Linked DNA regions of Homo sapiens: all the other regions are linked to region 1. The links are contacts of gene promoters, found by promoter capture Hi-C in human tissues and cell types (Jung and others, 2019). All regions are on one chromosome and are shown on one strand. The core of a region is centred on a gene start or on the middle of the fragment in contact, and the rest is flanking DNA. Distances in the headings are between cores, read along the strand shown.

Region 1 (7,642 bases), core at 3,113-5,612:
GCTGATGCCAGCACTCTGGATAAGATGATGCCTTTTGAAGGATCTGGTTGGAAGTTATTCAGAAGGATAAGGCAAGGAAGGCATTTCATGCATGAGAAAAGAGCATCAGTGTGGTACGGAGGTATATTGAATGCTGACAGGGAGCTACAAGGCAGTTTAGAACTGAAAAAGTATGAAATATGAGGCAGGCAAAGTATGGTAGGAGTTGGAGCTGAAAAAGTAAGCAAGCATCAGACTGTGTCCATCTTACATGCTCTGCTAAGAAATGTAGCTTCACTCCACAGAAAGGTGCTGAGATGCCCCCAAAGGGATTTAGGCAGGGGAGTTGTATCTGCTAACTATTGCATTAGTAATGCTGCACAATAAATCTCCCCAAAAGTCGGTAGCTTAAACAACAGTCTTGTTTTCTCACACACAGATCTGTGAGTCTGTGAGCATAGCTCTGCTTCATGCTGCAGATCTTCAGGTTGGCTGGGGTGGCTGAGTGTGTGGCTCAGACTGAAGGAACAGCAGCTACCCAAGGTTAGCTCTTCTCCTGGTGAAGCGTGGAAAGAACAGACGGGTGAGTGGGCAGACAGACGCCTTTTGAGACCTCTTCAGAGAAGGGGTACACTGTCAGGTGCACACACATGCGTTAGTACAGCAAGTCATATGCTTGCAATATGATTTTCAATACCAGTAGGGAGGGGAGAAAAACTGCCCCCTGTAGGGGAGGTGCTACAACATCACATGGTGGAAGGTGATGTTAATTTTTTTTTTTTTTTTTTTTTGAGACAGAGTCTCGCTATGCCGTCAGGCTGGAGTGCAGTGGTGCTATCTTGGCTCACTGCAAGCTCCGCCTCCTGGGTTCACGCCATTCTCCCACCTCAGCCTCCCGAGTAGCTGGGACTACAGGTACCCGACACCACGCCCGGCTAATATTTTGTATTTTTAGTAGAGACGGGGTTTCACCGTGTTATCCAGGGTGGTCTAGATCTCCTGATCTCGTGATCCACCCGCCTTGGCCTCCCAAAGAGCTGGGATTACAGGCGTGAGCCACCACACCTGGCCGATGTTAATTAATTTTGTAGGGAGGTTGTGAAAAATTATCAGCAATAATTCAATCTGTCTCAGGGGTAAAGTAGCTAGACTTGACTTTTTGAGATGATTCACTTGGGAAGTTGTGTGGAAAGCAGATTCGAGAGAGGTGATGCAGTAGTCAGAGGGACCAGTGAGAAGGGCCAGGTGAGACTTAGTGAGAACCTAGGCTGAGTAACAGTGAGCTGGGGGGAAATAGAGTTGACTGAAGAAAATTATATGATATAAAACCATCAGGACTAAAGACGTAGGGTCATTTATGGCTGGTTTTCAGAAATCTCCATTTAATATACCCAACTTAAAACACTGTCCTAGCTTCCCTTGCAGCTGGGAGGTGATTATATGGTAAGCTCTGCCTATTAGAACATAAACAAAATTCACTGGGTCAATTACCAGGATTTTTTTTTTTTTTTTTGAGACAGGGTCTCACTCTTTCGACCAGAGTGGAGTGCAGTGGCACGATCCTGGCTCACCACAACCTCCGCGTCCCAGGCTCAAGCGATTCTCCTGCCTCAGCCTCCCGATAGCTGGGATTATAGGCACGCACCACCATGCCCAGCTAATTTTTGTATTTTTAGTAAAGATGGGGTTTCACCATATTGGCCAGGCTGGTCTTGAATTCCTGACCTCAAATGATCCACCTGCATCGGACGCCCAAAGTGCTGGGATTACAGTTATGAGCCACCGCCCCCGGCCACCAGGAAAAGTTTTTAAAGGGGCATGTGCCCCTTTGCAGTTGTTATTACCTTCTTCCTGCCTTACACGTAGCTGGATGGCTAGAGTTCCACCAACCATGTTATGGACACGAGGCAATCATCCCAAAGGGGACTGAGCTGAGAGAAGGAGCCTAAGATTTTGACGACCTCATGAAGATACCATACCAGCCCTCAGCTGCCTCTCTTTAGAATACCAGGTAGGTGAGAAAAAATAAATGACTTTTTTAAAGTGACTGTTTTTTGAGTTTCTGTTTTTAGCAGTCAAATGAAGCTCCTGACACCATACATGACCTTAGCAACATGAAGCAACATTATTCATTCATGCAGATAATTATTATTCTGAATCAATGACCAAAATTAGAAACATGAAAACCTTAAGGTGATCTAGCTCAACTGTAATCCACTGCTAGTGTATATAATTTGTGGAGACTTTTTTTTTTTTTTTGGCTTTCCTTCTTCCTTGTCTTCCCAACACAAGTCTAATTTTTCCTCTCAGCCATCTCTCTGATTTCTCATATCTATTTGGTGTTAACTGATCAGAGGGAGTTAGCAGAGAAGGGGGCTGGCTGTTTCATTTTAGAATACGACTCTTGAAGAACCCGTGATGGAGGAATAAACAGAAGTCCTGGTTCCTATTTCTAGACAAGAGGCTGCCCAATGTAATATGTAATATCAGTAATAGTAAGGTTGCATTTCTGTAGGGTGGCTCGATCAAGCGCTTCTTGTATACCATATCATTAGCTGCCCGAGGGCCAGTAAGGTCGGATGGTTTGTTCAAGGACAAGAACTAACAAGTAACAGAGATAGGACTTATCTTTTTCTGACCTTCACTTTCCCTTTCTGTGACAAAACTGGTCTTAGGAACTGTGTTGAGCAGAGCCTTCTGTGGGCGTGAGAGCGGCTTGGAGGTGTCAAAGAAAAATTGCATCCGATATAGTTAAACAGACAAGGGGGAATTATTCAAGGCTATTGCAATAGGGAAGAGAGAGAGGGAGGGAGAGGGGAACTAGTAGAAGACTAGTGGAGGAGATTAGGATGGGAAGTTGGTCAGTGTAATGAGGCCATTTGTGTTTCCTAATTGGAACTTATTAAAGTTAGGCTCCTCCTCTCCACAAACACTAGGAGATAGGGACCCTTTTTTCCTTGATGATTACATTTCAAAGGGATGCCTCACAGATCCCTGAGAAAGATCCCCAGGCTGTAAAACCCAGCAAGAGGCGGAGAGATTTACATGTCAAAGGGTCAGAGGAAACATTCACCAATGGAAGTTGGCTAAAGTAAATGCTCTGAGAAAAGGAAGGTCTGGGGCCTACAGTTAGGAAGAAACCTGTCTAAAGTTTAGTTAAGCTGAGGGGAATGTTAAGGCCATTTGGTCACCGTAAGCAGTACCACATTTCCTTGCCTCTCCCGGGAGCCAGGTCTCAGTGTCCCCAATAGGGGACACGCACTGACCGGCGGGTGAAGGGACTGATTTTGATTATCATCCTACCAGATAGAGATTATTCCCTCTGCACCCGGGTTAACTGAAACCCGGTGGGGGTAGATCCTTGCCATTTTCCGGCCCTGTACCCCACTGGAAATAACATGCGGTGGTCAAGGGCATCCACCTCTTTAGGCAAAAGCATGTTTTCAGCCCAGAGACGATTCCACCCAACTTTACAAGAGGATAGCCCAAAGATAGAAGCCAGGGACTCAGACTTCCTCCTTCCAGAAATAACCATCATAAAAAAGCCGACCCAGTAAACGCCTGGCAGCCTGCGGCATAGAAGAAAATGGAAATCTCCTTGGCTGGCATTTCAGCTTGCCTGAGGGGGCTTGCTTTGCTCCGAGGGGAGGTGACTGTGCTGACCTTAAAATCCAGGTTTCAGGAAGCAGGAGATGAAGGTATTTTATTTTCGCCTAAAGGCTTTGATATTTTTCAAATAAAAATTTAAAAGATCCAGTACCTTCTCCCGAAGCTTCTTCATAGAGTAGTGGATTTTTAGAAAACACAAAGGCCTAGGGGTGGGGCGAGAGTGGGGGGTGGGGATGGGTAGCCCCATAAGAGCAGTGCCCTGACGCCTCTTTTCGCCCTTTTCAGACCATTTGGATTTTCTTAAGCTGCCCCTTTCCCCAACCCCCGTTTTTGCCATTTGCCTCTCCTCCCATTCTCCAAAGTGCAAATAACTGGTTATCCCTCAGGTCCTGCTACCCCATCTTTCCTGATCCCCGATCCCTCCAAATACGAAGCACCTCGCATTTGGGTCAGCAGCTGTTTCCCCTGCCTGGTGACAAGGCCGGTGTGCAGAGGGCAGAGGAGGGAGCTTCTTCCGCCACACGGTGGCGCGCGCGAGCCTCCCAAAGACCGGGCGGCCACAGCTCCTCACCTTCTCCCCATTCCAGCCCCACCCGCCCGGGCGCAGAAAGAGCCGCGCCCCCAGCCCTCCCGGGCAGGACAGCCGGGAGCGCACCTCGAGGGCCCGGGCAGCGGTCGAGTGGCAGCTGCGTCCAGCCCATGCGGGAGCTGCTGCGGGTTACGGGTGGCCCCAGCTCCAGGCTCCTCCTCCAGCCGGTCCCCCACCCTCCACCCCTTCTCGACTCCGCTCTGCAAATCGAAGGCTTTCCGGAGCAGCCTAGGAGCGGCCGCGGGCGCAGCGAAGGCGGCAGGAGGAGCGCAGCAGCCTTCGGGCAGCCGCGGCGGCGTCGCTAGAGCAGCCGGGGAGGCGCCGCGGTGCCCGGCGCGCCCTCCAAGCTAGGAGAGGGGAGAAGCCGGGGGCTGCAGCTGGGCAAGGGGGAGGAAAGTGCGTGTGCGTGCACGCCTGTGTGCAGGGCAGAGAGTGCGGGGGGCGACAGTCTCGGCTTAGGGCGGAGGAGAGGGCAGGGGAACGGCGGTGCAGCTCCCCCGCTGTCCCCGAGGATTTCCCGCGGCAGCCCCGGGCTCCCCAGTGCCCCTCACCATGGACTTGCGCGGAGTTGGGACGGGCCTCGGCAGCAGCAAGCGGCTGGCTGCCGGGCCCTGGGGGAGCGCGGGCGCGCGCGCGGGGATGGCGAGGTAGGATGGCCACCCAGCGCGACCCCCGCCGCCCCAACCCAGCGGCCCCTGGGCGGTGCCGCTGACTCGCCGGAGCGCACAGGGGTGTGGGCGGAGGCGGCCTCGCCGCGCCCGCGCCTTCGGGAGTCGCCTCGCCTCTTCCACCCACTTGCACCTGCCACCCCGCGGATACCATGTCGAAGGCGGCCGGAGGCGCGGCGGCGGCTGCGGCGGCGGCGGAAAGTTGTTCCCCAGCCCCGGCCGGCTCGTCCGCGGCCCCGCCCGCGCCGGTGGAGGACCTGTCCAAAGTGTCGGACGAGGAGCTGCTGCAGTGGAGCAAGGAGGAGCTGATCCGCAGCCTGCGGCGCGCCGAGGCGGAGAAGGTGAGCGCGATGCTGGACCACAGCAACCTCATCCGCGAGGTGAACCGCCGCCTGCAGCTGCACCTCGGCGAGATCCGCGGCCTCAAGGTGAGCGCGGGCCAGGTGGGGAGGCGCGGCGCGGCTGGGAGCGGGGTGCCCCGAGGAGGAGGCGGGGCCAGGCAAACTTTCCCTCCCTCCCTCAACAGGTGACCCTCCCCTTCTCCCGGTCGGCACCCCCTACCCCCAGTCCCCAGCCCCTGTGTAACTTTTCCAAACTTCGGAGGCGTCTGCTCCCCTCCTCTCCCCAACACGGGGCGCTCCACTGTCTGGCTGTTCGGGGAGGCGCTGAGGACGCTGGAAAGCAGGGAGGGAGGTGAAGGGCACGCGAACCTTTCATTTCTTAGGGAGGCTGGAAAATCTGTGCCTGGGGAGCCGGGTTTCAGTCAGTTAGGCGGAAAGGCCAGTGAGGGGGTGAATCCAGGGGATCTTCGCCTTGGAGGGTCGGGAATGCGGCTGCTCTGGGCCAGCAGCTCTTGGGCGGGCAGAGGGCGAGGAAAGGGCGCCACTGCCAGGGAGAGCGGCTGGCGGGGCGCCCGGGAGAAGCAGCGGGCGCCACCCTCAGAGCAGTCTTGTGTCACCGGGTACATAGGAGTTCAAGCTCTGCCTTCACGTCTTCTCCCAATTCCTGTGCTTTCCCTCTCCCGGAGTTTGGAAGGCATCCCCTGGAGTTGCCTTACTCCCCTTCCCACTTAACCCCAGGTTGACTGGGGGAAAGAGGAGGAGCAAAGAGACTCAGTATGGAAGGAGCAGCATTTTGACAGAGTACCCCAAGTGTTGGTCAGTGATGGTTTCTTTCTGAGCCAGCCCCCCTGCCACCCTCTTCTAGGAAAAGAAGGGAAACGTACCCCAAGCCCACTAACTTTCTTTTCTCCTTGGAGAGCGCCGGGTCTGCGAGGAGTGTGCCTGCCCAGCTGCAGTACACTAGTGGCCGGGAACCGCCCTGCTGGCGAGCACCACAAACTTCCTCTCCTTCCAGCTAGCGCTGGTGCCTCCTGGTATTCCTTCCTCTCATTGTTCTGCTTTGTTTGTAGGAAGCCAGACACAAACGAAATCACTGCAGGGACTTCAGGGAGCAAATTCCCGAAGGCACAAGCTGTTCTTTTCCCCTTTCCACTCCTATCCCCACATATCAGACAGTAGATGCTGTTCCGGAATTGCCTCAGTGCTCCAGCTCTGGGATTCTGGGGCAAGAAAGAGTGGGAAGAGTGGAATGCTCAAGGCTCACCTATGTGCTGGGCCCAGTTCAGGTGGAGATGGCCGTCTCCCGAGGCCGAAAGTCATTGTCATATAGTCCCTAGAGTGGGTGCAGGTAGGAAGATTCCTCCAGTCAGAAAAATGCCAAGGCTTACTCTCTCCTGTGGTTGAATTCATTACTAACAGAGTGTTTATTAAGTGCCAGTCTCTTTGGGGAATAGAGGCAGGCTAGTGTAGTAGGAAGATGATCTCAGAGGTGGGTTTGAATTCTAGAAACCTCATTTGCCAGGAGGGTGAGCTTGGGTAATTACTTTCTCAGATCCTCCTTTTATTCACCAATACAATGCAATGATAATAACTTTCTGAGGGTGTTATGGCAATAAGTTATGATTATGTAGGGGAAGGTTTAATACTTGACTATAAAATGGTAGTTACTGTCATCAGGAAAGGACTTACAAATCTATGGCTGTGTGTCCCCAAGATTTTGGTTTCTTAGGCAGAGCTGGACAAGGGGGCATTAGTTTGTCATCCTCTAATTTGAGTTTCTTCCATGGTCTGAACAATAGTGTGATTTAGAAGAGTTGGAAGAGTTATTATTAAATGTTTTAATAGTATGGAGCATCAAAATAATAGCTCAGAAACACTTGAAAGTTCCTTTAGGTTATGTGGATTGACTGTGTGTGATGTCTGTGTGTGGGTAGGGGAGGGGAATGGTAGAGTGGGTTGGTAGAGTGCCTGGGCTTCATTCCAGTAGCTTCATGTAGAGAAGTAGCTATTAGGTCAGCTAAAGGCCCGTACACCCAAGTAAGAAAGTCTCCTTGTGATCTAGATTCATGACCTGGCATTAAAAGACTTGCCAGTCTACTTCCTTATCAAGTTCAGAAATGATGGGGGCAGGTTGCTTTCTGATGCAGCTTCTACTCTTCTCATGTCATCCCTGGGCTGCTGCAAGGAGCGGACTCCCAGGCTTCTGGCCCACCCTGGGTGTGCTGTGGTTTTACTCTTTGGAGAGGCCAGCCTTCTCCCTTCTCTTTTTTATTTTGGCTCAGAGCTTCCTTGGACACCATAGTAATCCATAAATGTGGTTGATTGAATAAATGATGGGTACATATATTTATTTTGGCTTAACTGGAAGAAAAGAAGTATTTTTTTTTGTTAAGGGCGTGGGGGAGCGTCTGAGGGCTTGGCATTCTCAGTTGAGAACTATAAATGTAGGGGAATTA
Region 2 (7,642 bases), core at 1,895-4,394, 420 kb after region 1:
CCAGCACCTGTTGGTTCCTGACTTTTTAATGATTGCCATTCTAACTCCTCTGAGATGGTATGTCATTGTGGTTTTGATTTGCATTTCTCTAATGAGCAGTGATGGTAAGCATTTTTCCATATGTCTTTTGGCTGCATAAGTGTCTTCTTATGAGAAGTGTCTGTTCATATCCTTTGCCCACTTTTTGATGGGGTTGCTTTTTTCTTGTAAATTCGTTTAAGTTATTTGTAGATTCTGGATATTAGCTCTTGTCAGATGGGTGGATTGCAAAGATTTTCTCCCATTCTGTAGGTTGCCTGTACACTCTTATGATAATTTCTTTTGCTGTGCAGAAACTCTTTGGTTTAATTAGCTCCCACTTGTCTATGTTGGCTTTTGTTGCCATTGCTTTTCGTGTTTTAGTCATGAAGTCTTTGCCCATGCCTATGTCCTGATTGGTATTGCCTGGGTTTTCTTCTAGGGTTTTTATGGTGTTAGGTCTTACATTTAAGTCTTTAATCCATCTTGAATTAATTTTTGTATATGGTGTAAGGAAGAGATCCAGTTTCAGCTTTCTACATATGACTAGCCAGTTTTCCCAGCACCATTTTTTAAATAGGGAATCCTTTGTTCATTGCTTGTTTTTGTCAGGTTTGTCAAAGATCAGATGGCTGTAGATGTGTGGTGTTATTTCTGAGGTCTTTCTTCTGTTCCATTGATCTATATATTTGTTTTGGTACTAGTACCATGCTGTTTTGGTTACTGTAGTCTTGTAGTATAGTTTGAAGTCAGGTAGCATGATGCCTCCACCTTTGTTCTTTTTGCTTAGGATTGTCTTGGCTTTGTGGGCTCTTATTTGGTTCCATATGAAGTTTAAAGTAGTTTTTTCTAATTGTGTGAAGAAAGTCAATGGTAGCTTGATGGGGATAGCATTGAGTATACAAATTAGGTTGAGCAATATGGCCATTTTCACAATACTGATTCTTCCTATCCATGAGAATGGAATGTTCTTCTATATGTTTGTGTCCTCTTTTATTTCATTGAGCAGTGATTTGTAGTTCTCTGTGAAGTGGTCCTTCACATCGCTTGTAAGTTGGATTCCCAGGTATTTTACTCTCTTTGTAGTAATTGTGAATGGGAGCTCACTCATGATTTGGCTCTCTATTATTGGTGTATAGGAATGCTTGTGATTTTTGCACATTTATTTTGTATCCTGAGGCTTTGCTGGAGTTGCTTATCAGCTTAAGGAGATACTGGGCTGAGATGATGGGGTTTTCTTTTTATTTATTTTTTTATTTATTTATATTATACTTTAAGTTTTAGGGTACATGTGCACAACGTGAAGGTTTGTTACATATATATACATGTGCCATGCTGGTGTGCTGCACCCATTAACTCGTCTTTTCACATTAGGTATATCTCCTAATGCTATCCTTTCCCCATCCCCCTACCCCATAACAGGCCCTGGTGTGTGATGTTCCCCTTCCTGTGTCCATGTGTTCTCATTGTTCAATTCCCACCTATGAGTGAAAACATGCTATGTTTGTTTTTTTGTCCTTGCAATAGTTTGCTGAGAATGATGGTTTCCAGCTTCATCCATGTCCCTACAAAGGACATGAACTCATCATTTTTTATGGCTGCATAGTATTCCATGGTGTATATGTGCCACATTTTCTTAATCCAGTCTATCATTGGTGGACATTTGGGTTGGTTCCAAGTCTTTGCTGTTGTGAGTAGTGCTGCGATAAACATACATGTGCATGTGTCTTTATAGCAGCATGATTTATAATCCTTTGCGTATATACCCAGTAATGGGATGGCTGGGTCAAATGGTATTTCTAGTTCTAGATCCCTGAGGAATCGCCACACTGACTTCCACAATGGTGGAACTACTTTACAGTCCCACCAGCAGTGTAAAAGTGTTCCTATTTCTCCACATCCTCTCCAGCACCTGTTGTTTCCTGACTTTTAAATGATCACCATTCCCACTGGTGTGAGATAGTATCTCATTGTGGTTTTGATTTGCATTTTTCTGATGGCCGGTGATGATGAGCATTTTTTCATATGTCTTTTAGCTGCACAAATGTCTTTTTTTGAGAAGTGTCTGTTCATATCCTTTGCCCACTTGTTGATGGGGTTGTTTGCTTTTTTCTTGCAAATTTGTTTGAGTTCATTGTATATTCTGGATATTAGCCCTTTTTCAGATGAGTAGATTGCAAAAATTTTCTCCCATTCTGTAGGTTGCCTGTTCACTCTGATGGTAGTTTCTTTTGCTGTGAAGAAGCTCTTTAGTTTAATTAGATGCCATTTGTCAATTTTGGCTTTTGTTGCCATTGCTTTTGGTGAAATTGAGGCAATAATTAATAGCTTACCAATCAAAAAAAGTCCTGGACCAGACGGATTCACAGCCAATTTCTACCAGAGGTACAAGGAGGAACTGGTACCATTCCTTCTGAAACTATTCCAATCAATAGAAAAGGAATCCTCCCTAACTCATTTTATGAGGGCAGCATCGTCCTGATACCAAATCCTGGCAGAGACACACAAAAAAAGAGGATTTTAGACCAATATCCCTGATGAACATCGATGCAAAAATCCTCAATAAAGTACTGGCAAACCAAATCCAGCAGCATATCGGACAGCTTATCCACCACGATCAAGTGGGCTTCATCCCCAGGATGCAAGGCTGGTTCAACATATGCAAATCAATAAATGTAATCCAGCATGTAAACAGAATCAACGACAAAAACCACATGATTATCTCACTAGACCTAGAAAAGGCCTTTGACAAAATTCAACAGCCCTTCATGCTAAAAACTCTCAATAAATTAGGTATTGATGGGAAGTATCTCAAAACAATAAGAGCTATTTATGACAAACCCACAGCCAATATCATACTGAATGGGCAAAAACTGGAAGCATTCCCTTTGAAAACTGGCACAAGACAGGGATGCCCTCTCTCACCACTCCTATTCAACATAGTGTTGGAAGTTCTGGCCAGGGCAATCAGGCAGGAGAAAGAAATAAAAGGTATTCAATTAAGAAAAGAGGAAGTCAAATTGTCCCTGTTTGCAGATGACATGATTGTATATTTAGAAAACCCCATCATCTCAGCCCCAAATCTCCTTAAGCTGATAAGCAACTTCAGCAAAGTCTCAGGATACAAAATCAATGTACAAAAATCACAAGCATTCTTATACACCAATAAGAGACAAACAGAGAGCCAAATCATGAGTGAACTCCCACTCAAAACTGCTTCAAAGAGAATAAAATACCTAGGAATCCAAGTTACAAGGGTTGTGAAGGACCTCTTCAAGGAGAACTACAAACCACTGCTCAGTGAAATAAAAGAGGATACAAACAAATGGAAGAGCATTCCATGCTCATGGGTAGGAAGAATCGGTATTGTGAAAATGGCCAAACTGCCCAAGGTAATTCATAGATTCAATGCCATCCCCATGAAGCTACCAATGACTTTCTTCACAGAATTGGAAAAAACTACTTTAAAGTTCATATGGAACCAAAAAAGAGACTGCATTGCCATGTCAATCCTAAGCCAAAAGAACAAAGCTGGAGGCATCACACTACCTGACTTCAAACTATACTACAAGGCTACAGTAACCAAAACAGCATGGTACTGGTACCAAATCAGAGATATAGACCAATGGAACAGAACAGAGCCCTCAGAAATAATGCCACATATCTACAACTATCTGATCTTTGACAAACCTGACAAAAACAAGCAATGGGGAAAGGATTCCCTATTCAATAAATGGTGCTGGGAAACCTGGCTAGCCATATGTAGAAAGCTGAAACTGGATCCCTTCCTTACACCTTATATGAAAATTAATTCAAGATGGATTAAAGACTTACATTTTAGACCTAAAACCATAAAAACCCTAGAAGAAAACCTAGGCAATACCATTCAGGACATAGGCATGGTCAAGTACTTCATGTCTAAGACAATGGGGTTTTCTATATATACAATCATGTCATCTGCAAACAGAGACAATTTGACTTCCTCTTTTCCTAACTGAATGCCCTTTATTTCTTTCTCTTGCCTGATTGCCCTGGCCAGAACTTACAATGCTATGTTGAAAAGGAGTGGTGAGAGAGGGCATCCGTGTCTTGTGCTGGTTTTCAAAGGGAATGCTTCCAGTTTTTGCCCATTCAGTAAGATATTGGCTGTGGGTTTGTCATAAATAGCTCTTATTATTTTGAGATACGTTCCATCAATACCTAGTTTATTGAGAGTTTTTAGCATGAAGGGCTGTTGAATTTTGTGGAATGCCTTTTCTGCATCTGTTGAGGTAATCATATGGTTTCTGTCTTTGGTTCTGTTTAGTGATGGATTACGTTTATTGATTTGCATACGTTGAACCAGCCCTGCATCCCAGGGATGTAGCCAACTTGATTGTTGTGGTTAAGCTTTTTGATGTGCTGCTGGATTTGGTTTGCCAGGAAGGCTATCAATTATTGCCTCAATTCCAGAGCCTGTTATTGGTCTATTCAGAGATTCAAATTTTTCATGGTTTAGTCTTGGGAAGGTGTATGTGTCCAGGAGTTTATCCATTTCTTCTAGATTTTCTAGTTTATTTGCATAGAGGTGTTTATATTATTCTCTGATGGTAGTTTGTATTTCTGTGGGATCGGTGGTGATATCCCCTTTATCATTTTTTATTGCATCTTTTTGATTCTTCTCTCTTTTCTTCTTTATTAGTGTTGCTAGTGGTCTATCTATTTTGTTAATCTTTTCAGAAAACCAGCTCCTGGACTCATTGATTTTTTGAAGGTTTTTTTGTGTCTCTATCTCCTTCATTTCTGCTCTTATCTTAATTATTTCTTGCCTTCTGCTAGCTCTTGATTTTGTTAGCTCTTGCTTCTCTTGTTCTTTTAATTGTGATGCTAGGGTGTCGATTTTAGATCTTTCCTGCTTTCTCTTGTGGGCATTTAGTGCTATAAATTTCCCTCTACACACTGCTTTAAATGTATCCCAGAGATTCTGGTACATTGTGTCTTTGTTCTCATTGGTTTCAAAGAACATCTTTATTTCTGCCTTCATTTTGTTATTTACCCAGTAGTCATTCTGGAGCAGGTTATTCAGTTTCCATGTAGTTGTGCAGTTTTGAGTGAGTGTCTTAATCCTGAGTTCTAATTTGATTGCATTGTGGTCTAAGAGACAGTTTGTTGTGATTTCTATTATTTACATTTGCTGAGAAGTGTTTTTCTACCAATTATGTGGTCAATTTTAGAATATGTGCAATGTGGTGCTGAGAAGAATGTATATTCTGTTGATTTGGGGTGCAGAGTTCTGTAGATGTCTGTTAGGTCTGCTTGGTCCAGAGCTGAATTCAAGTCCTGGATATCCTTGTTAACCTTCTGTCTTGTTGATCTGTCTAATATTGACAGTGGGGTGTTAAAGCCTCCCGTTATTATTGTGTGGGAGTCTAAGTTTCTTTGTATGTCTCTCAGGACTTGCTTTATGAATCTGGGTGCTCCTGTATTGGGTGCATATACATTTAGGATAGTTAGCTCTTCTTGTTGAATTGATCCTTTTACCATTATGTAATGGCCTTCTTTGTCTCTTTTGATCTTTGTTGGTTTAAAGTCTGTTTTATCAGAGACTAGGATTGCAACCCCTGCCTTTTTTTGTTTTCCATTTGCTTGGTAGATCTTCCTCCATCCCTTTATTTTGAGCCTATGTGCATCTTTGCACATGAGATGGGTTTCCTAAATACAGCACACCAATAGGTCTTGATTCTTTATCCAGTTTGTCAGTCTATGTATTTTAATTGGGACATTTAGCCCATTTACATTTAAGGTTAATATTGTTATGTTTGAATTTGATCCTGTCATTATAATGTTTGCTGGTTTTTTTGCCGGTTAACTGATGCAGTTTCTTCATAGCATCAATGGTCTTTACCATTTGGCATGTGTTTTGCAGTGGCTGGTACCTGTTGTTCCTTTCCATATTTAGTGCTTCCTTCAGGAGCTTTTGTAAGGCAGGCCTGGTGGTGATAAAATCTCTCAGCATTTGCTTGTCTGTAAAGGATTTTATTTCTCCTTCACTGATGAAGTTTAGTTTGTCTGGGTTTGAGATTCTGGGTTGAAAATTCTTCTCCTTAAGAATGTTGAATATTGGCCCCCACTGTCTTCTTGCTTGTATGGTTTCTGCCGAGAGATCTGCTGTTAGTCTGATGGGCTTCCCTTTGTGGGTAACCCCACCTTTCTCTCTGGCTGCCCTTAACATTTTTTCCTTCATTTCAACCTTGGTGAATCCGGCAATTATGTGTCTTAGGATTGCTCTTCTCAAGGAGTATCTTTGTATTTTCTGAATTTGAATGTTGGCCTCCCTTGCTAGGTTAGGGAAGTTCTCTTGGATAATATCCTGAAGAGTGTTTTCTAACTTGGTTCCATTCTCCCCATCACTTTCCAGTACACCAATCAAATGTATATTTCGTCTTTTCATATAGTCCCATATTTCTTGGAGGGTTTGTTCATTTCTTTCACTCTTTTTTCTCTAATCTTGTCTTGTCACTTTATTTTATTAATTTGATCTTCAGTCACTGATATCCTTTCTTCCACTTGATCAAATTGGGTAATGAAGCTTGTTCATGAGTAACAAAGTTCTCGTGTCGTGGTTTTCAGCTCCATTAGGTCATTTAAGGTCTTCCCTACACTGTTAATTCTAGTTAGCCATTCCTCTAACATTTTTTCAAGGTTTTTAGCGTCCTTGTGATGGGTTAGAACATGCTCCTTTAGCTCGGAGAAGTTTGTTATTACCAACCTTCTGAAGCCTACTTCTGTCAACTCGTCAAACTCATTCTCTGTCCAGCTTTGTTCAGTTGCTGGCGAGGAGCTGCAATCCTTTGGAGGAGAAGACGCACTCTGTTTTTTGCAATTTTCAGCTTTTCTGCTCTGGTTTCTCCCCGTCTTTGTGGGTTTATCTACCTTTGGTCTTTGATGTTGGTGACCTATAGATTGGGTTTTGGTGTGGATGTCCTTTTTGTTGATGTTGATGCTGTTCCTTTCTGTTTGTTTTCCTTCTAACAGTCAGACCCCTGAGCTGCAGGTCTGTTTGAGTTTGCAGTAGGTCCACTCCCGACCCTGTTTGCCTGGATATCACCAGCGGAGGCTGTAGAACAGCAAATATTGCTGCCTGATCCTTCCTCTGGAAGCTTCATCCCAGAGGGGCACCCGCCTGTTTGAGGTGTCTGTCGGCCACTACTGGGAGGTGTTTCCCAGTCAGGCTACACGGGGGTCGGGGACCCGCTTGAGGAGGCAGTCTGTCCTTTCTCAGAGCTTGAACGCCGTGCTGAGAGAACCATTGCTCTCTTCAGGGCTGTCAGGGACATTTAAGTCTGCAGAAGCTGTCTGCTGCCTTTTGTTCTACTATGCCCTGCCCTCAGAGGTGGAATCTATAGAGGCAGTAGGCCTTGCTGAGCTGTGGTGGGCTCTGCCCAGTTTGTACTTCCAGGCCACTTTGTTTACACTGTGAGTTACTCAAGCTTCAGCAATGGCCGATGCCCCTCCCCTTGTCAAGCTGCAGCATTGCAGGTCCATCTCAGACTGCTGGACTAGTAGTGAGCAAGGTTCCGTGGGTGTGGGACCTGCTGAACCAGGCACGGGAGGGTATCTCCTGGTCTGCTGGTTGCTAAGACTT
Region 3 (7,642 bases), core at 1,971-4,470, 330 kb after region 1:
GATAAAGATCAGCCTGGGTAACACAGGGAGACCCCAACTCTACAAAAAAACAATTAGCCAGGCATGGTGACATGTGTCTGTGGTCTTAGCTACTCAGGAGCCTGAGAAAGGAGGATCACTTGAGCCTGAGAGTTTGAGGGTACAGTGAGCTGTGATGATTATGACACTGCACTCACCCTGGGTGATAGAAGGAGACCCCGTATCAAAAAGCAAAGCAAAGCAAAACAAAACAAAAAAAACAGGAAGGGAGGTTAGTGGAATGAATTCCAGTTCTAGCTGCTTCTCAAGGCTACTATTTAACATCTCTCTTCTATTACACACTCTAGATTCCACTTACCTTTGTCTGCTAGCACCTCTGCTAGGCTATTTTTTAAATCTGTTCCCTCAAGTATTTATGCTTTGAGTTACAAACAATCCAATTACACTCTTGAAATTATTTTAAAATGTATAATTATTATTGACTATAGTCACCCTGTTGTGCTATCAAACATTTGGTCTTATTCATTCTTTTTATGTTTTTGGTACTCATTAACCATCCCTACCTCCTCCTCACCTCTGCTGGTCTAGATAACACATTTGCTTGGATGACTGAGATCCTCATCTCTGAGGGTCCTGAGCCCCTGTTCACCATGTTCTTTGCATATGCGGCTGCTGAATTTATCCATTTTCAAGCAAAATTGTGCCAGGGAGTACCAAGATATACTGAAAATATCACTTGGATGCCTCACATGTTCTTCCATGCCTTCGTTTGTGGCATGAAGCTTAAAATGAATGGGCAGCATTTCTAGAGATTAAAGTTCAAAGGCACTCTTGCTGTGTCCTGTGGTGGAAGCATTCCCATCTGGGAGCTAGGATCTCTAAACCTGTAGAGTACAAAATTAAGAGAAAAGAAACTGTGGATTTTTCAAATGGCTTATTGACAGTGAGGGTAAGCTGGGCCACTTGTGTTTCAACCCTTTTGTTCCTGGACCCATGTGGTGTACCCATTGGGAAAATAGCACCATTAAAAGTCATTGATTTAGTGTGATACAACATTCTGGGGAAAGATTCTTCATCTTTCCAGGGCATCATTTGCAAGCAGGTGCCCCAGCTGTTGCTTTATCAGGCCTTTCCTTTGCTCCACTGGGACAGCAGCTTGCAGGTGGTGTAGTAAGTGATAGCTCCAGTGGACCGCCTTGCCGTATGGCCACTGCAAAGCATGAGAAATCCTGTGTCAGTGGATGAAACACTGTGTAAACTCAGAGGGAGGCTAGGTTGGGTTCTGCAGGTAGAAAAGTAAAACCCATACACCAAACGTATGCTGATTCTATTAAAGTTGAGTTGCTGCCCCTTTCAAGACAAAAACAGCCTAATCTGATCAACTTGCCAACAAATAGCTTTGCAGTCTTCTTGAGGGGTAGAGCCATTTGAGCAGCTAAGATTTGATCTCTGTTGTTAGCAAGTTGGACATGTGGCATTAGCAGTAGTTAGATCAGTCTTAGTGAGTGGGAGCTCATGCTGCTGGCCCATGCATAGCCTCTATCCTTGCCACTATACTACTCAACTCATGTATCTATAGTGCAACCATGAGGTGGTCAATGACAGGCTCCTAACCCCAGCAGCAACAATCCAGTTTCATAGTCTTTATAATTATTATCTTTCATATTTCTTAAAGCTGAAGATACCACACCCATAAGTGTAGTCACTTCCACCACTATCCTCTCTCTGTTCATGCTCAGCGAAAGTTTTAATACTTGTCCCAACACTCCAGGTTAGGAGCTGTCAGTATTTCACTTACCACCAGTGATGAACTTTTCATGGTTGATTGGTCGGTAGGTGATTCAGCAGCAAAATGTCATTTTATAGTTGTTTTCCTTGAATCACTCCTGGCACCAATTGTTACAGAATGGATTCCCCTAAAAAACAGAGGCTGAGAAGGAGATCTGCATGCAGAAACTTTATAAGTGTATGTTCCTGGGGTCAATACCCATTTTGGGTTGAAGGAAAAAAGATTGTGTAGAGAGAAGATAAAATGAGAGGCCTTGCATAAAGGTCCCAGGTGATTTCAGAGGGAGCTCTGGAGCTGTGATGGCCCTTTAGTTGAGCCATGATGAGGGTCTGGACCTATATACATCTAAACAGGTTGGCCATTGAATGTCAACTGCCCTTAAGACGGAGGCAACTTTAGAGGCCAGGCATGGTGGTCCACACCTGTAATTCCAGCAATTTGGGAGGCTGATATGGGAGGATTGCTTGAACCCAGGAGTTCAAGACCAACCCAGAAAACATAAGACTCTATCTCTATAAATAAAGATAAAAATAAAATAAAATAATTAGCTAGGCTTGGTGGCACATGCCTGTAGTTCTAGCTACTGGGGAGGCTGAAGTGGGAGGATCACTAGTCCAGGAGTTTGAGGCTACAGTGAGCCATAATCATGCCATTGCACTCCAGCATAGGCAACATAGCAAGACTCCATCTCTAAAAAACAAAAAATTAGCTGGGCGTGGTGGAGTGTGCCTGTGGTCTTGGCTACTCAGTAGGCTGAGGTTGGGGGATTGTTTGAACCTGGGAGGTTGAGGCTGAAGTGAGCTGTGATCACACCACTGCACTTCTGGGTGAGAGAGCAAGACTATGTCTTAAAAGAAAAAAGAAGGAAGCAACTTTAGTCTCCCAATAGCTGGAGGTGATGGAAAAAGGAGCAGTGTTTCAGTCCTGAAAGCGGATTAAGGGATGGGATATCTGGATGGAGCACCACGGCATGCACTATATTATTTATTGCATAAAATTTGCAAAAGGCAAAAAGTGTAAAAAGAAAGATAAATGTGACTCATAATACCATCACCTAGATTTAACTGCTGTTAGTATTTTGATATATTTTCTTCCCTCCTTTTTCCTAGGTATCTATATTTCCTGCATATTTGGAAGCATACCCAAAATATTTCACATATTACTGCATCACTTAACATAATTTACGTAATTCTTCATATTATTGAAAATAAATGTCATATCCTTAATTTTAGAGGCTCTAAATATTTCAACTTGTTGATGTACCTTCACCTAACAATTTCTATATTATAAGTTGGGATCTCCTATATTTTATGAATATAAATAATAGCGGTATAAATTTAAACTGTTGGTCCTTGATCTAAACATATCTCAAAGAGTTCTCTTCTTTCTTGTGAACTAAAAAGTAAATCTTCATCAGAAAGATTCTCTCAACGTTCCCTTCCTGAAATGCTGGGATTTTTTTGTTGTGATGGGGAAAAGAAATAACAGCTGGTCATTTTCTGATTTTCTTGTGTTGTTACTTCAATTCTGCCCCTCACCAGAGGGGCAGATCACCAGGTATGTGATTTCAGGTTACTCAGTTAAGTCCTCCGACCCTAAGATCTTACATCAGTAAGTGTATAATTCCTGCCATTCTCCCTCACAAATTTATTGTGAAAAACCCACACACTCTCCTAACATGGAAGGGATTGTTTTGTAGTGATGATGATCCTGTCTAGGGGTAGGAGAATAGTGTGATGGGCAGAACTAGAAAAATAACAAAACAAAACCTGTCCTTGTTTTTGTGAACTGTATTCCAATTTGCCTAGTGTCACATTTTCACAGACAAATGAAGAAAATGAGACTCATTAGCTTTGTTTCAAAACAGACAGGGGCTGTGCTTGCATAGCAACCAGCAGCAAGATGGAGAAGAGCAGGGTTCAGCTGACAGTCCAGATGCTTGCTGATTCTCAGGATGCAAACAAAGCATCTGGGTGGTTGACTGAATCTCCCATTCACCATCACGGTGCTTGGTCTCATGTAGACAGTATTGCCAGTTGGTGAGACGGAAGTAGATCATCCATATGGACAGAAATACATAGATTTATATGGATCCCAGTCCAGTATGTTTGAATGTACAAATGTCTCTCTTTGTACCCACATAAGTGGGAATATTAGGCAGGGGCAGCCGTAAAGACTGTAGAGATGTAAATGATGACAGAATAAATAGTCTTCTATCCTACTACAGATAAGCAAAGGGAAGCTTTTTAAAATAGAGTGTTAGGCTGGGCACAGTGGCTCACGCCTGTAATCCCAGCACTTTGGGAGGCTGAGGCTGGTGGATCACCTGAGCCCAGGAGTTTAAGACCAGCCTGGACAACAAGGTGAAACCCCATCTCTACTAAAAGTACAAAAGAATTGGCTGACTGTGGTGGTGTGCATCTGTAGTCCCAGCTACTTGGGAGGCTGAGGTAGGAGGATTACCTGAGCCCGGGAAGCAGAGGCTGAAGTGAGCCGAGATTACGCCACTGCACTCCAGCCTGGGCGAGAGAAGGAGATCCTGTCTCAAACAAAACAAAACAACACCAAAGAGTATTTTATGTACTATCCCAGGTTGGTGTGTGTTTACTTCCTTTATCTTATGCCTTTTCAAATTGGGACCTTTCCAGAAGGCATAAATCATTGTAATTAGTAGGAGGAGATTCCATAGATCCGGGCTTCTTTTCATGTATCTAAGAATGACAAGGCTGGAGACCCTTCAGAATGTGATGCCAATGAGTTAGAAACCCTAGGCCCTAACCTGAGTCAATGCATCCAGATTCCAGATTAAGATGGGATGTTCAGGGGATTTGAGTGTCTCATCTACCCCCCATCTCCAACCAGGCATAGAGGGGAGGAGAGCCTATTAGTTTTCTAGAGGGAGGAAGAAATTAGCTTTCTCAGTTCCTCATTCTTCTCCCTTCTGCTCCTTTACTTCTGTAGCCTTGTAGGAACTTTGGAAATGTGATTGGTTATTTTTAAAATGTATTTATCCAGGGTTATGATTAATCAGACATTCACCAGGAAATCTATCTTTTCTTTTGAGGTTTTTTCATTGACTCTGTATTTGTTATAACTAGAAATTATATAACACACATGTAATAACCTAAAACACGATATAATATTATCCTAAGTAGTATTTGTTCGTCATTCAGTATGTGCTTCTATATGTATTAGGCACCCAAGAGCCAACAGAGTATGAGGGGAAATAGCTCCTGGTACCTGATGTCTCCTTATCTCTCATTCACACCTCAACCCCCTGAAATATGACTCCTGCTCCTACAAGTTAATTGAAATGTCTCTTGCCAAAGTCAATGATGACCTCTGTTGATAAATTCAGTAGAGAGTTAGCTTTTATCTTATTTGACCTCTCAGCAGCAATGCGACAAGGCTGACTAGTTTCTCCTTGAAAAAGCCCCTTCCCAGGCTCCTGGGATACCATACTGCCTGGCTTTCCTACCACTTCTCTCTGGTACCTCTTTCTTTGATCCTTAGCATGTTTCTCCCTCCTCTGCTAATCCTTCCAATGTTGTTGTTTCTCAGCATACTGCTCTAGTCTCCCTCTTCCTCTCCTGTTTGTATTCTCCTTTTCTATCCTGTTCTCACTTCACCCAGCCTCCCTGAGTAAACAAAACCATCCCAACATGTCTGCAGTCCCTAGTTTCATATATGCTATATAGCTCCTTATACATCTGATGTTTAAAATTTTGTTTTCATCTGAATCTTCACACCTGGACACTAGCCCATTTAGCAAATGACCACTTGTAGATCTTGATTTTGTTGTCTCACAGGTGCTTGTATTTTACTCTAATCAAAGAAAAATTCATCCTCTTCTCCCACAGATTTGACTGTCATCCATTTTGCCTTTCTCACTGAATGGTACAAATGTGCAACTCACAGTGTAAGTCAGAAATATGAGTGGCATGGTTAAAGTGAATTTGAGTCACATACGGGTATTTGTTTCTATCTTGTGTTTCTGTTTTGTTTTGTTTGTTTATTGAATCCTCCCAGTGGCAACAAACCTCAGATTGAATTCCTTGCCTCCTGTGAATAAAAAAAGCATCTCCTGCCTAGGGAGTGCTGTTCTTTTCTGTGCTTCTGTTGGCTGATCATTGTCTTCAGATGCAGGGCAGCAGGATGTCATTTCTAGTTAGGATTGTGCCAGGAGGTCTCCCCGCTGTGGGAATAAAGCCAAGGGCCCCTCCTGCAAAGGTACACAGTAAGACAGCCAAGATGAGCTAGGAACTGGAATTTTAATTTTCAGTGTTGGTGGTACAGAGATGTGGATGAGGGATTGTTTTAGCATAAGAAATTAAATGCCTGTCAACATAGTCTGCAGAATTAACATAGAAAAAAATCATTTCCAGCATTTTTCAGGGCTTAGATTCAATGAGTAGTTATTGGCATCATTATTTAGTAGGAGGATTTCTATCAACAGACTTGATATATCTCTGCATCCTAATTTCAATGTATTTTTTTTCCTGTTAGCAAGAAGAATGTTATTATCTGTTAGATTTGGTGGTGGAAGCAAAGCAGAAGGAAGCAGAGAATATGAAATTGTGAACTCAAGCAGTAACAATATTTAGAAAAGGAAACAATCCCAGGAGAAAGAATTGGATAAACTTGATAGGTTTTCTAATTTCTAAATGTTCTTACATATCTAACCAATTTCATGTGCTCTCTGCCATGTCTATGGTATACCTTAAAAATCAATTTAGCCCTTCAGGAAACTGGGTTGGCATGCTTTAGCACAATATTTTTACCAGATTTAGAAATGATCATTATCATTTTTCCTGGGGTTATGATGGGTCTGAAGAAGGTTAGTAGCAGAAGACAAAATAAGAAGCACTATTTTACAATGAGAGAATGACATTTAAATTGTTACCTTTCAAAAATTGTTTATTAGCCATGCTGACCTCTCTCTGAGGAAGTATTGGAACATGAAAAAATATGAAATTGTACACTTTTTTTCTCTTTTCTTAACCATTAGGAGATTGTAACAAGTTCCTACCCCTTAGCAATGGGTATTTTTGAGCCCCACTGGGTAACATGGTATTATAGGCATGAAGTATAAAAAACTTAGGATGTATGTTTACCAAGAAGATTTAAGTGATCATCCAAGCTCCCACATACTTCCTGAAAATTCTGCAGAGTGAGTGTTTTTAATCCAGTTCATGAGATACTGAACTAACATGGGAAAGGAGTCTGGAGGCTTTAAGCATGTTCATTTAGGTAGTAATTTCTATCTTATGTGTTATCAACCTTTATTAGAGTGGTTAATAAGCAGCTAAAATGAGACTGATTGTGGTTTAATTTTATTTAATTTCCCTAGTCTCCACTTAAATGAAAGGCATTAAGTAGCAGTAAGTTGACCAGGCCTCCCAGACAGAGGTGAGAGGAGAAAGAAGAAAAGCACATGTGCAGTTTCATCTGAGATTGGACAAACAGCTTCTGGGTTATAAGGAACTGACTCTACCTTTCTGGAGAAGCTGCAGTTTTATCTGGAGGATACAGGAAAGCACATAATGAGGCATAAATATCATATATTATTTTCTTTGCAGCATGAGATAGTTTTGACTTTTGTTCCTGTACTATTTAGGCTCAGGGTTAGGGCACTAGGGATGCAGACAGCTTGAGTGCAGGATGGAGCATCTGGGTCGTATGCACAGAGCATTAAGCAAACATCTCGTATGCCCACACTTTAGACAATTCTGACAGCTGCTGGAACAAACTATTTTGCAGTACAATTATACAAAACTAAAAGCAGTCAGCAATTGTATTTACCATTGTGAATTGTGTTCCAAATCTTATTCTCTCTGAGATACTCATTTTAATGAGCTAAAGATGTTCACCTAA
Region 4 (7,642 bases), core at 3,631-6,130, 290 kb after region 1:
TTTACTAAAAATATTATAATTTTGAAATTCTCCATATGATTATCTAATTAATGCTTTTCCTCCTCTAAACTGTAATTTTCATTAATGCAGGGATTGTATCAGTCTTGTTTACCAGAAATATGGAAGGGCTTGATACTTAGTAGGTATTAAAATATTAGTTGAACAAAACATCTATAAGTGAGTATTCATTTAATTAATAAATATTTATTGAATGTCCATTGTACACTAGACACTTTTCTTTCTGGATGCAAGCATATATAATGTTGAACAAGACAGGCAGAACATTCTTTTCTTCATAGAGATTAAATTTTATTGTGCAAATATGTATGCATGTATGCAAATATTCATATAAAATGCAAGTTTCACATGTTTATAGAAGCACCACTTTCTTTCTTTCTTTTTTTTTGAGACAGAGTCTCGCTCTGTTGCCCAGGCTGGAGTGCAATGGCAGCATCTCGGCTCACTGCAACCTCTGCCTCCCGGGTTCAAGCGATTCTCCTCCCTCAGCCTTCCAAGTAGCTCGGATTACAGGTGCCTTCCACCACGCCCAGCTAACTTTTATATTTTTGGTAGAGACGGGGTTTTACAATGTTGGCCAGGCTGGTCTCGAACTCCTGACCTCAGGTGATCCACCCACCTTGGCCTCCCAAAATGCTGGAATTATAGGCATGAGCCATTGTGCCCGGCCTAGAAGCACCACTTTCAATGCAACTTCAGTCAATTTGAAATATTCTGGGTGAACTGCAACCACATTTTAGGACATCTCCCAGGAAGGCTGTAAGAATCTGGCTAATGAAAGCTGCAGAATAGAAGCTGTTTTCAGATAGGGGCCAATCATGGTCCAGATTGCATGGCTACCCTATTGGATATATCTCCCAATTGTGCAGACAGGACTTTATTTGAGATGGACAAAAGACTCCTCTGAGGAGCTGTTGATCTTTAGACTCTTGAATCTCATGCTTTAAAGCATCACCAAGTATTACAAATGATACAATACTCATGCTCACACAAATACATGCAAATATTTATTAAGAAATTGTTATGTGTCAGGCTCTGGCATAAGTACTTTACATACATTGTCTGATTTAATCATCAAATAACTCTCTGAAGGAGAGTATTGTTATTAGCACAACTTTATATCATGGCAGACTGATGTGCTGAAATGTTACATGATTGCCCAAGATCGCACAGTTTACAAATCAGAAAGTAAGGACTGACTCCAGGAGTGACTTTAGAGCTTATACTCTTCCATTTACTGTTTTTGCAGACATTGTAGGGATTTCTTTCTTAAGAATCTAAATATGTGAGTCAGAGTATTTAGACATACTTGACTTATATCACTGGGGGCTGAGCTAATCATGCTAGGTCCTCAATACAGATCTACAGGCAGCCAGGACAGCACTAAGATGTCCTGGCTTTCTTTTAGTAACTTCATGCTTTTGCATCAAAAAAGAGCCAAGAGAGTGCATAGGGAACTCCATGCTGTGAGGCTGGAGTTGGAGTCAGGATCCTTTAGCCCTTGAGTAGTGCCAGGGATTTATATTAGCCTTTGCTAGAATACCACATACTTTAAGGAGGCTTATTTTAGTCAGAAATACAATGTTGCAAGGATATCCCAGTTCTCCCAACTTTAGGTGGCTTAATATCTTCTATGCAGTTTAAAAATTGTTCTTTAAAGAGTCTCACATAATCTGGTTAAAAGCTGAGTGAAGAGAAGCTTGGATCAGGTTGTTATGCTGGAATTGATCACTCAAGTTGATCCTCAATTTGAAGACCCATTATGGAATTATAAAGCATACTGTAGGTCATGACAGAGATCTTTGGGCCTCTCAGTGACACTTTTAGCCTTTTCCTTCGATCATCGTTGGGGCATTTCACTACCTCTTTCCTTCACAGCTACCCAGACCTAGGAGGTATTTCAGGGAAATTGGAGATGCATGCATGCTTAAAAAAATGGGCTTGTCCACTTGGCTCATGTCTGAAACTCCTCCAACTTCAAGGGAGAAGATGAAGTAGGAGGAGAAGAGGTCTTAGGGATGAGGGGAACTTGGAACGAGGACATTAGAGATGCTGGGAGCACAGGATTGCAGCATATTAACAATCTGGCTCACTTGCAGTTTTGTGCCATTGACAATTTATCCCTCAGATAGTGAACTGTATATTGATTTTTAAGTGGAGCTCTGTTTTAATAGCCATAGGAGAAAAGTCTCTGAAGAAAATAAATATTACCATGCCTTTTGTAGGTGTCAGAGAAGCTTATCTCAGTGACTTGTTTAGAGTGGAAATAAAGGTGCTTTCATTTTTATCAGAGTGAATTTTTATAAACCTAGTTAGTCACTTGCCTTGTGTTGACCTCAGCACCTAGCAATGATTCAAGTGAGTTGATTTCCCTCTCAACTCCTTCTTTTGTTACCTCTCCAAATAATGGGGGTGATATGAGAATAAATAAATAGCACTATAGGGAAAAATGCTATAAGCAGCTCTCACCTGTCAAACTTAAGATACGACTATATGCCACTAAGTCCATGCCACTTATTTAATCACTTTTAATAGGTATCTGAGCACATTGTAATGGCTTATCTGTGCCAATGGTGTAACTCGAGAGAATGAGTTAAAAATAGCACATGGGCAATTATGCAACCTTCACTGGACTGTGCATATTATCCTCAAATTGCCCTGACAGCATGCTGTCCTGGAACGATTCCAGAGAAGTCATTTCTTTGCACTCTCTGCCATCAGAACATCCCAGGGAAGTGTGATTTCAGGTTCTGGTAACATGATACTGCTACCGTTATACAAGGCTCAGAGCTAGTGGGACTAGAGATAAGGTAATCAAAAACAAATACAAAATGTACTTAATTCATTAAAAAGGTGAATCTTTCTAGAACATGCAGGGCTTTACTTTTACACTACTCAACTTTAAGGGAAAAGATACTAAAAACACTTACATCCATGTTATAGATGAATAATTGTGTCAAATGATTCGAATATTATGTTTCCAATTTCATAAATTCAGAGAAGGTCTTAAGCCTGGAGTAGAATGAACTCTGATATTCACTCCAATTTTTCAGACCAAGGAGCTAGAGGCCACAAATAGCTCCAAATTCTCTCTGGCTCAGTGAGCTGCTTGCATTTAATAAATGTTCAGTATTAAAAGCATCCAAATGTGTGCTGATCCGAAACAAACCCAACATGCCTGTTTCTAATCTTTACCTTTTGCTTCCCACAGTGACTTGAGTGATTTTTGCTTTCTTGGCTTTCTGTCTCAGACAAAGCTGGCACTGACCAAAAGCTCATCAGAACTGGTCAGAGCACAAGAAACTCTCCCAATTTTCCTCATTTTCTCAATCTGTGAAATGAGACACACATTTGAGTATAGGATTTTAACCACTGAAAGTCTGAAATGTCTAACTATCCCTTTTTTCTCTACCCTTAAAAATTCATGAGTGACTTTATGCCTCATCTATCTATAATGCATACATTTGAAGTTAATCCATTGATTCCTAAACACCTTTATTAAGGTACAATTTGCATACTGAAATATTCACCCTTTTTAAGTGTACAATTGAATGATTTCTTAGAGAGTTGTGCAATCATCCCCAGAATCTTAGAATAATTTTGTTGCTCCAAAAATATCTTCCATGCCTATTTGAATCATCTTGGCATCTTTCTAGAAAATCAGTTGAATATAAATGTAAGCATTAATTTCTGGACTCCCAATTTCATTTCTTTGATCTATATGTCTGTCCTCAAGTCAGTGCCACATTATCTTGATTCCAATAGCTTTGTAGCAGATGTTGAATTCAGGATGTGTGAATTCTTAAATTTCTTCATTTTCAAGATTGTTTTGGTTATTCTGGGTTCCTTGCAATTAGACATGAATATTAGGATTAGCTTGTCAATTTTTACAAAAAAAGAAAAAAAAAGCAGCTGAGATTTTGACTGGGATTGCATTTAACTATTTGGGGGAGTATTGTCATGTTAACATTGTCTTCCGATCTATGAACATTGGATGTTTTCCCATTTATTTAGGTCTTCAAATTCTTTCTATGATATTTTGTACTTTTCAGTGTACAAACATTATTCTTTTTTTATTAAATGTATTTCTAAATATTTTATTCTTTTTGAAGTTATTGTAAATGTAATTGATTTATAATATAATTATTAGATTGTTGCTAGTATATGGAAATACAGTTGTGTTTGTACATTGATTGCGTACCCTATAAACTTGCTCAACCAATTTATTAATTATAATTGTTGGAGAAGGTAGCTAGGCAGATATGAGCAGGGCAGGAGAAGCCCACCCCCACCAACCAGGAATTTCAGGTGGCCATCAGGTGATCGTTAGGTGCTTGTTAAACTGACTCACTAAAAAAAAATTGTTTGCAGCTGGCACCAGGGGAAGCACGCTTCCAATAATAGAAAACACCTGAAGCTGGTGATGGCTGCTTCCTGATAAGATTTCAGGAATTGGGCAAGCAGGCTTGAGCATGCACACCGAGAAGCAAAATGGCAGAGTTTAACTGGTATATGACCTTCCTCTGGAAACACTTGACTGGTAAGGGAAAAATGCCTCAAATGAACATGTGCACAACTTCAGTAGACACCTGCGCATGTGGCCCCTCCCTAGTTTTGGCAAGCCACTGTGCATGTAGACAGCCTGCCTAAGGAAAAATCAAGGGAGAAGAAATGCAGTGTATAAAAACCTTAAGTCAAGGGCCAAACAGCACACTTGGCTCGATCTCGAGTTACTCGCTTGGCCCCTTTCCAAGTGTACTTTACTTCTTTTCGTTCCTGTTCTAAAACTTTTTAATAGACTTTCACTCCTGCTCTAAAACTCACCTTGGTCTCTCACCCTGCCTTATGCCCCTCAGCATAATTCTTTCTTCTGAGGAGGCAAGAATCGAGTTGCTGCAGGCCTGGATAGATTTTTAAACAGCTAACGTAATGTTTTGTGGACTTCTTTTAATTTTCTATGTAGAAGATCATGTCATCTACAAAAAAGATAATTTCACTTCTTCCTTTCCAATTTTATGTATTATTCTGACCCAATTTCCCTGAGTATGACTTACAGTATAATGTTAGATAGAAATGGCAAGAGAGTGAACAGATTTGTCTTGTTCTTGATTATAAGGAGAAAGCTTTGTCTTTCACCATTAAGCATGGTGCTAGCTGTAGGTATTTTATAGATGTTCTTTACCAGGTTAAGGAAGTTTCCTTCTGTTTTTTTAAATGGTTTTCTTTTTAAATGAAGGTGTGTTGGGTTTTAACAAGGATTTTCCTGCATTTATGGAGATTATATGGTTTTTGTGTTTTATTCTATTGGTATGTTGTGTTACATAGATTGATGTTTTGATTTTGAATCAATCTTATATTCTTGGGATAAATCCCTCTTGGTTATGGTGGATATTCCTTTCTATATGTTTCTAAATTTAATTTACTAGTAATTTGCTGAAAAGTTTTGCTTTTATTTTCATAATGGTTATTAGTTTGTGGTTTTCTTTTATTTTAATGTCTTTTGTTTTGGTAATTCTGTCCTCATATGATGAGTTGAAAATTGTTCCTTCCTTTTCTATTTTTTGGAAGAGTTTATGAAGTATCTGTTTTAATTCCTCTTTATGTATTTGCAAGGGTTCACCAGTGAAACATTATGGGCCTGAGATTTTCATTGTGGTAAAGTTTTAAATTACAAATTTAACCTCTTAATTTGTTATTGGTCTATTCAGATTTTCTTTTTTATCCTGAGTTAATTTTGGTAGTTTCTGTTATTTCAGAAATTTGTCTATTTCATCTAAGTTATCAAATTTCTTGTTGTACAGTTTATAGTACTCCTTTTTAATCCTTTTTATTTCCATGAGATCAAAAATGACATCTTTCTTTCACTTCTGACTTTAGTAATATGCATTCTCTCTCTCTCTTATTAGTCAGTTTAGGTAAAGGTTTTTCAATTTTGCTGACCTTTTCAAAGATCTAACTTTTTGTTTCATTGATTTTTCTGTATTGTTTTTCTATTCTCTGTTTTATTTATTTGTTTGTTATTTCCTTTTTTTCTATTGCTTTGGGTTTAGTTGGTTCTTCTTTTTCAAGTTACTTAAGGTGGAAGTTTAGATTATTAATTGAAGTCTTTCTTCTTTTTGTAATACAGTATTGGTGTTTATAGCCATAAATTTCTCTCTGAGAATTGCTTTTGCTGCATTTCATAAGTTTGGTATATTGTGTTTCATTTTAATTCATTTCGAAACTTAACTAATTTCCCTTGTGATTTTTTTTCTGTGATCCATTAGTTATTTAGGCATTTGTTATTTTATTTCTATGTAATTTTGAATTTCACATCTTTTCTTGTTATTGATTTATAACTTTATTCTGTTGTTGTCAAATAACATAGTTTGTGTAATTGCAATTCTTTTAAATTTATGGAGATTTGCTTTATGGCCTAGCATATGATCAGTCTTGGAGAATGTTCCATGTGTGCTTAAGAAACATAAATTTTATGGCTTTTGGGTGGATGTCTACTATGTCTAGTTGCTTTAAAGAGCTGTTGAAGTTCTATATTTCCTTGCTGATCTTCTGAATAGTTGCTCTATCCATTATTGAAAGTAAGGTCTCCTATTATGATTGTTGAAACTTATATATTTTTTTTACATTCTGTTCAGGTTTGCTTCATGTATCTGAGGCTCTGTTGTTAGGTGTATATATGTTTATGATTGTTATGTCTTCCTGATGGATTGATCCTTTTTTATTATGACATTTTTTATTAACATTTTTTTAAAACTCTAATTTGTCTGATATTAGCATAGCTATTCCTGCTCTCTTTTGGTTGCTATTCACATGGCATATCTTTCCCATCATTTTGCTTTCAATTTACTTGTATTTTTGAATCTAAAATACGTTTGCTGTGGACAATACATGGTTGAATTTTAAAAAAATTATGTCTAATAATTTGTTGTTTTGATAGGATTAATTCTTTCAAATTTAATGTTATTGTTATGGTTTTATTTATGTCTGCCATTTTTGTTTTTGCTGTCTATATGTTTGTCATTTTAGTTTCTTTATTCTTTACTATCTTCTTTTGCATTAGCTGTATATTTTCTAGTGTAACATTTCAATTCCTTTAATGATATTTTAACCATGGTAGGCAAAATAATGATCCACAAATGATGCCCATGTCTGAATGCCCAGAACCTGTGAATATATTACCTAGCATGGCAAAAGGGGCTTTGCATGTGTGATTAAGAATTTTGAGATGGGGAGACTACCCTGTCTTATCTGAGTCACTCCAATGTAATCACAAGGCTAATTATAAGGGAAAGAGGGAGGCAGGAAAGTAAAAAAAAAAAAAAAAACATACTGCGAGTGAGATGTTAGAATGATGCATTTGCTGGCTTGAAAGGGGAGTGTAGTCTCTGAAAGCTAGAAAAGGCAAGAAAACAGATCTTCCTGCTAGAGCCTCCAAGGGGAACACAATTCTGTTTACTTCTTGATTTTACCCATTGAAACCTCTTCAGATTTATGACCTCCAAAACTGTAAGATCATAAATTTGTCTTGTTTTAAGCAATTAAGTTTGTGGCAATTTCTTAAAGCATCAATGAGAAACTAATATTGACATTTTTTGAGTTATTTTCTTAGTGCTTATTCTAGGAC

Evidence for each region. The method cuts DNA at HindIII sites, captures the fragments that hold promoters and counts their contacts. A contact is called where the count stands out against the background at its distance.
Region 2: a fragment that was not itself captured here is called in contact with the fragment with the promoter of CCDC85A in region 1 in 1 of the 25 tissues and cell types used here (thymus).
Region 3: a contact is called between a fragment that was not itself captured here and the fragment with the promoter of CCDC85A in region 1, in 1 of the 25 tissues and cell types used here (lymphoblastoid cells).
Region 4: a fragment that was not itself captured here is called in contact with the fragment with the promoter of CCDC85A in region 1 in 1 of the 25 tissues and cell types used here (H1 embryonic stem cells).

The regions. Positions count from the first base shown.
Region 1 is chr2:56,179,628-56,187,269 of GRCh38, forward strand. CCDC85A (coiled-coil domain containing 85A) reads left to right here and starts at 4,363. Exons shown (of 6, transcript NM_001080433.2): 1 at 4,363-5,273. The coding sequence starts at 4,998. LOC100129434 (a long non-coding RNA gene) reads right to left here and starts at 6,143. Exons shown (of 3, transcript NR_125368.1): 1 at 6,071-6,143. RefSeq lists a silencer at 4,033-4,362. The HindIII fragment of the contact is 12,191 bases long and covers 1-7,642 here.
Region 2 is chr2:56,599,034-56,606,675 of GRCh38, forward strand. All of the region lies in intron 4 of LOC101927213 (a long non-coding RNA gene), which reads left to right. Among named protein-coding and RNA genes, the nearest start is that of CCDC85A, 420 kb to the left of the region's middle. The HindIII fragment of the contact is 4,704 bases long and covers 793-5,496 here.
Region 3 is chr2:56,507,093-56,514,734 of GRCh38, forward strand. No RefSeq gene overlaps it. Among named protein-coding and RNA genes, the nearest start is that of CCDC85A, 330 kb to the left of the region's middle. The HindIII fragment of the contact is 7,618 bases long and covers 1-7,029 here.
Region 4 is chr2:56,472,263-56,479,904 of GRCh38, forward strand. No RefSeq gene overlaps it. Among named protein-coding and RNA genes, the nearest start is that of CCDC85A, 290 kb to the left of the region's middle. The HindIII fragment of the contact is 5,789 bases long and covers 1,987-7,642 here.